Linked DNA regions of Homo sapiens: region 1 is linked to region 2. Evidence: promoter capture Hi-C in 16 types of primary human blood cells and fetal thymus (Javierre and others, 2016). All regions are on one chromosome and are shown on one strand. Each heading gives the region's core, a stretch centred on a gene start or on the middle of the fragment in contact. The rest is flanking DNA. Distances are from core to core; before and after follow the strand shown.

Region 1 (4,770 bases), core at 1,686-4,185, 8.5 Mb before region 2:
AAAAGCCTGGATGTCCAGACAGAAGCCTGTTACTGGGGTGGAATCCTCATGGAGAACATCTACTAGGGAAGCAAGGAGAAGAAATGTGGGGTTGCAGCCCCCACAGAGAGTCCCCTGGGGCACTGCCTAGCAGAGCTATGACAAGACAGCCACCGTCCTCCAGACCCCAGAATGGTAGATCCACCAACAACTTGCACCCTGCAGCCTGGAAAAGCTGCAAGCACTCAATGCTAGCCCATGAGAGCAGCTGTGGGAGATGAACCCTGGAAAACCACAGGGGTGGTTCTGCCCAAGGTTTTGGGAGCCCACTCATTGCATCAGTGTTCCCTGGGTGTGAGTCAAAGGAGATTATTTCAGAGCTTTAACATTTAATGACTGCCCGGCTGGCTTTCAGACTTGCAATGGGGCCCTATAGCCTCTTTCTTTTGGCAGATTTCTCCCTTTCGGAATGGCAGTATCTGCCCAATGCCTATACCCCCATTGTATCTTTGAAGCAATTACCTTGTTTTTGATTTTACAGGTTCATAGGTAGAAGGGACTAGCTTCGTCTCAGGTGAGACTTGGGACTTTGGACTTTTGAATGAATGCTGGATCGAGTTAAGACTTTGGGGAACTGTTGGTAAGGCACGACAGTATTTTGCAATATGAGAAGGACATTAGATTTGGGAGGGGCCAGAGTTGGAATAACATGGTTTGGATCTCTGTCCCCACCCAAATCTCATGTTCAACTGTAATCCCCAGTGTTGGAGGTTGGGCCTGGTGGGAGGTGAGTGGATTATGGGGTGGCTTCTAATGGTTTTGTACAGTCCCCTCTTGGTACTATATAGTGAGTTCTGACAAGATCTAGTTGTTTAAACGTATGTAGCACCTCCCATTTCTCTCTTCCCCCAGTTCCTGCCATGTGAAGTCTGGGGTCTCCCTATGCCTTCCATCATGATTTTAAGTTCCCTATGGCCTGCCCAGAAGCTGATCCAGCCATGCTTCTTGTACAGCCTGCAGAACTGTGAGCCATTAAACTTTTCTTTATAAATTACCCAGTTTCAGTTATTTCTTTATAGCAGTGTAAGAATGGACTAACACAATTATTAACGCTAGTCCTCATGTTGTACATTAAATCTCTAGATGTATTAGACGTAACTGCAACTTTGTACCCTACCCTACAATTTTCTTTCCCCCCAAGCCCCCCAACCAAGGGTCTACTCTGTTTCTATAAATTCAGTTGTTTTTTAATTCCACGTATAAGTGAAGTACAACTCAGTGTAGAAACTTGGTAAATGCTAGCTACTTGTTATAAGCTGTCAGTCAAAATAAAAATACAGAGATGAATCTCTAAATTAAGTGATTTATTTGGGAAGAAAGAATTGCAATTAGGGCATACATGTAGATCAGATGGTCTTCGGTATATCCACACAACAAAGAAAAGGGGGAGGTTTTGTTAAAAAAGAGAAATGTTACATAGTGCTCTTTGAGAAAATTCATTGGCACTATTAAGGATCTGAGGAGCTGGTGAGTTTCAACTGGTGAGTGATGGTGGTAGATAAAATTAGAGCTGCAGCAGGTCATTTTAGCAACTATTAGATAAAACTGGTCTCAGGTCACAACGGGCAGTTGCAGCAGCTGGACTTGGAGAGAATTACACTGTGGGAGCAGTGTCATTTGTCCTAAGTGCTTTTCTACCCCCTACCCCCACTATTTTAGTTGGGTATAAAAAGAATGACCCAATTTGTATGATCAACTTTCACAAAGCATAGAACAGTAGGAAAAGGGTCTGTTTCTGCAGAAGGTGTAGACGTTGAGAGCCATTTTGTGTATTTATTCCTCCCTTTCTTCCTCGGTGAATGATTAAAACGTTCTGTGTGATTTTTAGTGATGAAAAAGATTAAATGCTACTCACTGTAGTAAGTGCCATCTCACACTTGCAGATCAAAAGGCACACAGTTTAAAAAACCTTTGTTTTTTTACACATCTGAGTGGTGTAAATGCTACTCATCTGTAGTAAGTGGAATCTATACACCTGCAGACCAAAAGACGCAAGGTTTCAAAAATCTTTGTGTTTTTTACACATCAAACAGAATGGTACGTTTTTCAAAAGTTAAAAAAAAACAACTCATCCACATATTGCAACTAGCAAAAATGACATTCCCCAGTGTGAAAATCATGCTTGAGAGAATTCTTACATGTAAAGGCAAAATTGCGATGACTTTGCAGGGGACCGTGGGATTCCCGCCCGCAGTGCCGGAGCTGTCCCCTACCAGGGTTTGCAGTGGAGTTTTGAATGCACTTAACAGTGTCTTACGGTAAAAACAAAATTTCATCCACCAATTATGTGTTGAGCGCCCACTGCCTACCAAGCACAAACAAAACCATTCAAAACCACGAAATCGTCTTCACTTTCTCCAGATCCAGCAGCCTCCCCTATTAAGGTTCGCACACGCTATTGCGCCAACGCTCCTCCAGAGCGGGTCTTAAGATAAAAGAACAGGACAAGTTGCCCCGCCCCATTTCGCTAGCCTCGTGAGAAAACGTCATCGCACATAGAAAACAGACAGACGTAACCTACGGTGTCCCGCTAGGAAAGAGAGGTGCGTCAAACAGCGACAAGTTCCGCCCACGTAAAAGATGACGCTTGGTGTGTCAGCCGTCCCTGCTGCCCGGTTGCTTCTCTTTTGGGGGCGGGGTCTAGCAAGAGCAGGTGTGGGTTTAGGAGGTGTGTGTTTTTGTTTTTCCCACCCTCTCTCCCCACTACTTGCTCTCACAGTACTCGCTGAGGGTGAACAAGAAAAGACCTGATAAAGATTAACCAGAAGAAAACAAGGAGGGAAACAACCGCAGCCTGTAGCAAGCTCTGGAACTCAGGAGTCGCGCGCTAGGGGCCGGGGCCGGGGCCGGGGCGTGGTCGGGGCGGGCCCGGGGGCGGGCCCGGGGCGGGGCTGCGGTTGCGGTGCCTGCGCCCGCGGCGGCGGAGGCGCAGGCGGTGGCGAGTGGGTGAGTGAGGAGGCGGCATCCTGGCGGGTGGCTGTTTGGGGTTCGGCTGCCGGGAAGAGGCGCGGGTAGAAGCGGGGGCTCTCCTCAGAGCTCGACGCATTTTTACTTTCCCTCTCATTTCTCTGACCGAAGCTGGGTGTCGGGCTTTCGCCTCTAGCGACTGGTGGAATTGCCTGCATCCGGGCCCCGGGCTTCCCGGCGGCGGCGGCGGCGGCGGCGGCGCAGGGACAAGGGATGGGGATCTGGCCTCTTCCTTGCTTTCCCGCCCTCAGTACCCGAGCTGTCTCCTTCCCGGGGACCCGCTGGGAGCGCTGCCGCTGCGGGCTCGAGAAAAGGGAGCCTCGGGTACTGAGAGGCCTCGCCTGGGGGAAGGCCGGAGGGTGGGCGGCGCGCGGCTTCTGCGGACCAAGTCGGGGTTCGCTAGGAACCCGAGACGGTCCCTGCCGGCGAGGAGATCATGCGGGATGAGATGGGGGTGTGGAGACGCCTGCACAATTTCAGCCCAAGCTTCTAGAGAGTGGTGATGACTTGCATATGAGGGCAGCAATGCAAGTCGGTGTGCTCCCCATTCTGTGGGACATGACCTGGTTGCTTCACAGCTCCGAGATGACACAGACTTGCTTAAAGGAAGTGACTATTGTGACTTGGGCATCACTTGACTGATGGTAATCAGTTGTCTAAAGAAGTGCACAGATTACATGTCCGTGTGCTCATTGGGTCTATCTGGCCGCGTTGAACACCACCAGGCTTTGTATTCAGAAACAGGAGGGAGGTCCTGCACTTTCCCAGGAGGGGTGGCCCTTTCAGATGCAATCGAGATTGTTAGGCTCTGGGAGAGTAGTTGCCTGGTTGTGGCAGTTGGTAAATTTCTATTCAAACAGTTGCCATGCACCAGTTGTTCACAACAAGGGTACGTAATCTGTCTGGCATTACTTCTACTTTTGTACAAAGGATCAAAAAAAAAAAAGATACTGTTAAGATATGATTTTTCTCAGACTTTGGGAAACTTTTAACATAATCTGTGAATATCACAGAAACAAGACTATCATATAGGGGATATTAATAACCTGGAGTCAGAATACTTGAAATACGGTGTCATTTGACACGGGCATTGTTGTCACCACCTCTGCCAAGGCCTGCCACTTTAGGAAAACCCTGAATCAGTTGGAAACTGCTACATGCTGATAGTACATCTGAAACAAGAACGAGAGTAATTACCACATTCCAGATTGTTCACTAAGCCAGCATTTACCTGCTCCAGGAAAAAATTACAAGCACCTTATGAAGTTGATAAAATATTTTGTTTGGCTATGTTGGCACTCCACAATTTGCTTTCAGAGAAACAAAGTAAACCAAGGAGGACTTCTGTTTTTCAAGTCTGCCCTCGGGTTCTATTCTACGTTAATTAGATAGTTCCCAGGAGGACTAGGTTAGCCTACCTATTGTCTGAGAAACTTGGAACTGTGAGAAATGGCCAGATAGTGATATGAACTTCACCTTCCAGTCTTCCCTGATGTTGAAGATTGAGAAAGTGTTGTGAACTTTCTGGTACTGTAAACAGTTCACTGTCCTTGAAGTGGTCCTGGGCAGCTCCTGTTGTGGAAAGTGGACGGTTTAGGATCCTGCTTCTCTTTGGGCTGGGAGAAAATAAACAGCATGGTTACAAGTATTGAGAGCCAGGTTGGAGAAGGTGGCTTACACCTGTAATGCCAGAGCTTTGGGAGGCGGAGGCAAGAGGATCACTTGAAGCCAGGAGTTCAAGCTCAACCTGGGCAACGTAGACCC
Region 2 (4,784 bases), core at 162-2,661:
CTACCACGCCCGGCTAATTTTGTATTTTTAGTAGAGACGGGGTTTCTACATGTTGGTCAGGCTGGTCTCGAACTCCCCACCTCAGGTGATCCGCCCACCTTGGCCTCCCAAAGTGCTGGGATTATAGGCGTGAGCCACTGTGCCCCGCCTCTCTCTCTTTTATTAAGGTGATTTTAGTGAGGCAGGAGACAATCATTGCCAGAGGTAGCAATGAGACTTAAAAGCAGGTTACCCAATCCACTTCCAGGCCCTGTTGTCAGTGGGGTTTGTGGTAGGCAACAGCTGTCAATTAAGACGACGGGCCGGGTGCGGTGGCTCACGCCTATAATCCCAGCACTTCGGGAGGCCGAGGAGGGCGGATCACGAGGTCAGGAGATCGAGACCATCCTGGCTAACAGGGTGAAACCCCGTCTCTACTAAAAATACAAAAAATTAGCCCGGCGTGGTGGTGGGAGCCTGTAGTCCCAGCTACTCGGGAGGCTGAGGCAGGAGAATGGCGTGAACCTGGGAGGCGGAGCTTGCAGTGAGCCGAGATTGCGCCACTGCACTCCAGCCTGGGAGACAGAGCTAGACTCCGTCTCAAAAAAAAAAAAAAAAAAAAAAAAAAAATTAAGAGGACTGCAGGCGGCCAGGCGCAGTGGCTCACGCCTGTAATCCCAGCACTTTGGGAGGCCAAGACCGGCAGATAACCTGAGGTCAGGAGTTCGAGACCAGCCAGCCAACATGGTGAAACCCCGTCTCCATTAAAAATACAAAAAAATTAGCCGGGCGTGGTGGCGGACACCTGTTAATCCCAGCTACTCGGGAGGCTGAGGCAGGAGAATCGCTTGAACCCGGGAGGCGGAGGTTGCAGTGAGCCGAAATCGCGTCACTGCACCCCAACTTGAGCAACAAGAGCGAAACCCCGTCTCAAAAAAAAAAAAAAAAAAAAAAAAGACTGCAGGACTGCAGGGGAGTATAGAGCCAGATTTCATTTAAAGCAGGAAAAGGAACATCCGGCATTTGAGGACATAGATTTCGCTAACGACAGAAATGAGGCTCAGAGATTACGTGACTTGATTAGAGTCACAGTGAGCATAGCGGAGGATGGAACCAATGCTTTAACTCTACACCGAGGCATAGTGCTCCATTTATGGCTTTTTTGTGACGTAACAACTAGGATACACAAGCAAATGGACCCCACTAACCAAGAATCAGAAACCCGAAGGCCCGAGGATCTGGGCACGACAGCGGTTAAGCAAGCGCAGAGCAAGTCGCTGGCCGCGCAATGCCCGGTGGGTCTTGCAGTTTCTTGGCTGGGCATGGCCGGAAGGGAGGAGAGAAGGACGCATTGCATGGCGGGAGATATAGTCTTTGCCGGAAGTCCCTCCTCCCTCGGACGCCTGGCGGCGCCGGCGCACACTGCTCTTCCTTAAGGGCGGGAGTCTCGGTTTGTGGTGGCTTCGCTGAGGCAGTGGTGGCCGCACTATACCGTTAGAAACTCAATTTCCCGGAGGTTGTGAGGCCCTTTGAGGCGAAATCGCTCTGGGCGTGAAAGGAGCAGGCGTTGGCAATGGAAGGACCACCGCGACCTCAGGCTGACCGTAGGGAGGGATCTTGAGGGCCCTCCGAGTCCCCTGGGCTTGCGCTTTCTTTCTTTGCAGCCACCGTGCCTACCGCGAGGATGAGCTCGGCCTCGGTCACCGCTTTCGAGAAGGAGCATCTCTGGATGTATCTGCAGGCGCTCGGCTTCGAGCCAGGCCCGGCAACCATTGCCTGCGGAAAGATCGTGTCGCACACGCACCTCGGAGTGTAAGGAGGCCGGGGCCGGCGGGGCGAGGGAGCCTGAACCGGGGGACGCCGGGGGACTCCCCCTTTTGTAGACCCCGGAGGTTGATTAATCAGAATTGGTTGAGCAGTTACTCTGTGCCAGGCATTGGCTCCAAAGTTCCTACTCCCAGTTGCTGCCAGCCTAGGGGCAGAGACAGACAGTAAATAATGCAAGAGTGCCGGAAGCGCTCTGTAGGGGAGTGCAAAAGTCTGCAGATGGGGAGAGTGCAAGACTGGAGGAGCAGCTTAACTCTGCCTATGTGGTGGAGGGGTGGTCTGTGAAGTAGTGGGAGGGATGGCGGGTGGTAGTGGAAGAGCATGGGAACCATATGTACAAAACACCTTTTGGACTCAAGGGAGCCTTTGAAGGTGGTTGTTTAATTTTATAATTTTTAATTTTTTAATTAGTAAGGCATGTTGGAGTTAGCATAAAACAACGGAGAAGGGTATTAAAAACAAATACCCTTTTAAGAAAAGTATGGAAAGTAAAAGCCCCTTCCCTACTTTTTCCACTTCTGTTTTATCAACTTTAGCCAGTATCTCTATTTAATCATTCCCACTGTAGGCCAAGAGGAATTCTTTTCTTTCATATGGAGTCTCCCTCTGTTGCCAGGCTGGAGTGCAGTGGCACGATCTCGGCTCACTGCACCCTCCAACTCCCTGGTTCAAGCGATTCTCCTGCCTCAGCCTCCCGAGTAGCTGGGATTACAGGCACTTGCCACCACGCCCAACCAATTTTTGTATCTTTAGTAGAGACGGGGTTTCACCATGTTGGCCAGGATGGTCTCGATCTCCTGAGCTCATGATCCACCTGCCTCGGCCTCCCAAAGTGCTGGGATTACAGGCGTGAGCCACCGTGCCCGGCCTCTATTTTTTTAAAGTATTATTATTTTAGAGACAGTAGCTAACCATGTTGCCCAGGCTGGTCTCAAAATTCCTGGGCTCAAGCAATCCTCCTGCTTCGGTCTTCCAAAGTGCTGGGATTATAGATATGAGCCATTGTTTTTTGTTTTGAGACAGGGTCTCCCACTCTGTCGCCCAGTCTGGAGTGCAGTTGTGCGATCACAGCTCACTGCAGCCTCCAACTCCTGGGCTCAGGCGATCCTCCCACTTCACCCTCCTGAGTAGCTGGGACTACAGGTGCGTGGCACCATGCCTAGGGTCGGCATGTTGCCCAGGCTGGTCTTGAGCTCCTGGCCTCCAGCAATCCCCCCGCCTTGGCCACTCCAAGTGCTGGGATTACAGATGTGAGCCACCGAGCCTGGCCTGTTTTATTTATGTTCATAGTTGTACATATTTTGGGGATATAAAATTTTGATATTTTGATACACTTATACAATGTATAAGGATCAGATCAGGATAAATGGGATAGCCATCATCTCAAACATTTATCTTTCCTTTGTGTTGGAAACATTTCAGTTCTTTTCTAGCTATTTTAAAATACACAATAAATTATTTTTAACTATAGTTTCACTTATGTACTATTGAACACTAGAACTTATTCCTTCTATCTAACTGTATATTTGTACCCATTAATCAACTTCTCTTCCTCCCTCCTTCTCTCCTTTTCCTTTCCTAGACTGTGTTAACCACCATTCTACTCCCTACCTCCATGAGGTCCACTTTTTTTGCTTTCACATGTGAGAACATGTGATATTTGTCTTTCCGTGCCTGGTTTATTTTACTTAAGATAATGACCTCCAGTCCCATCCATGTTGCTGCAGATGACAGGATTTTCTTCTTTTTGTGTGGCTGAATAATATTCCATTGTGTATATATACCACAATTTCTTTATCCATTCATCTGTTTTCTTTATCCATTCAACTTAGGTTGATTCTGTATCTCGACTATTGTGAATAATGTGTCACTAAACATGGGAGTGCAGATGCCTCTTTCATATACTGATCTCCTTCCTTTTGGATATATACCCAGCAGTGGGATTGCTGGATCATAGGGTACTTCTATTTTTAGTTTTTTAAGGAGCCTATGGTTTCCCATAATGGCTGTACTACTTTACATTCCACCAACAAAGTACAAGCATTCCCTTTTCTCTGCAGGATCCACCATCTTGTAACACATGTCCACTTTAAATGCTTTCAACATGGATGTGGCATTAAATTTACTTTTTTGTTTTTATTTTTTGAGATAGTCTGGCTCTGTCTCTCAGGCTGGAGTGCAGTGGCCTGAATGTGGCTCACTGCAGCCTCCATCTCCTGGGCTCAAGCGATCCTTCCTTCCACTTCAGCCTCCCGAATAGCTGGAATTACAGGTGCCTGCTGCCACGCCTGGCTAGTTTTAATTCTTTTTTTTTTGAGATGGAGTCTTGCTCTGTCGCCCAGGCGGGAGTGCAGTGGTGCGATCTGGACTCACTGCAACCCCCGCCTCCCTGGTTCAAGCAATTCTCTGCCTCAGCCTCCTGAGTAGCTGGGAATACAGGCGCCTGCCACCACGCCTGGCTAATTTTTTTGTATTTTTAGTAGAGACCGGGTTTCTCCATCTTAGCCAGGCGGAATCTTAAATTCCTGACCTTGTGATCCACCTGCCTTGGCCTCCCAAAGTGCTGGGATTATAGGCCTGAGCCACCACACCTGGGCAGCTAAGTTTAATTCTATTCTTTTTGTAGAGATGGGTTCTCACTGTGTTGTGGAGGCTGGTCTTGACCCTCTGGGCTTAAGTGATCCTCCCGCGTCAGCCTCCCAAAGTGCTGGGATTACAGACATGAGCCACTGCACCCTGCCAAAGTTACTTTTAAAATTGCTCGATGCATTTGTAAATCCAGCTACTCAGAAGGCTGAGGTGGGAGATTGCTTGAGGCCAGAAATTTGAGACCAGCCTGGGCAACATAGTGAGACCCTGTCTCTTAAAAATGCAATTAGGCTAGGCATGGTGGTTCACACCTGTTAATCCCTGTGCTATGGGAGGGCAAGGTGGGAGTATTGCTTGAGCCCAGGAGTTTGAGGCTACAGTGAGCTATG

What was found. The method cuts DNA at HindIII sites, captures the fragments that hold promoters and counts their contacts. A CHiCAGO score of 5 or more calls a contact.
Region 1: the fragment with the promoter of C9orf72 here is called in contact with the fragment with the promoter of HAUS6 in region 2 in 1 of 17 cell types (non-activated CD4 T cells); the score reaches 7.4 in non-activated CD4 T cells.

What each region holds. Positions count from the first base shown.
Region 1 is chr9:27,571,646-27,576,415 of GRCh38, reverse strand. It overlaps C9orf72 (C9orf72-SMCR8 complex subunit), which reads left to right and starts at 2,935. Exons shown (of 11, transcript NM_018325.5): 1 at 2,935-2,985. RefSeq lists enhancers at 2,326-2,853, 3,452-3,541 and a silencer at 2,862-2,941. The HindIII fragment of the contact is 3,790 bases long and covers 1-3,494 here.
Region 2 is chr9:19,099,531-19,104,314 of GRCh38, reverse strand. It overlaps HAUS6 (HAUS augmin like complex subunit 6), which reads left to right and starts at 1,411. Exons shown (of 17, transcript NM_017645.5): 1 at 1,411-1,791. The coding sequence starts at 1,664. RefSeq lists an enhancer at 1,169-1,732. The HindIII fragment of the contact is 8,228 bases long and covers 1-4,784 here.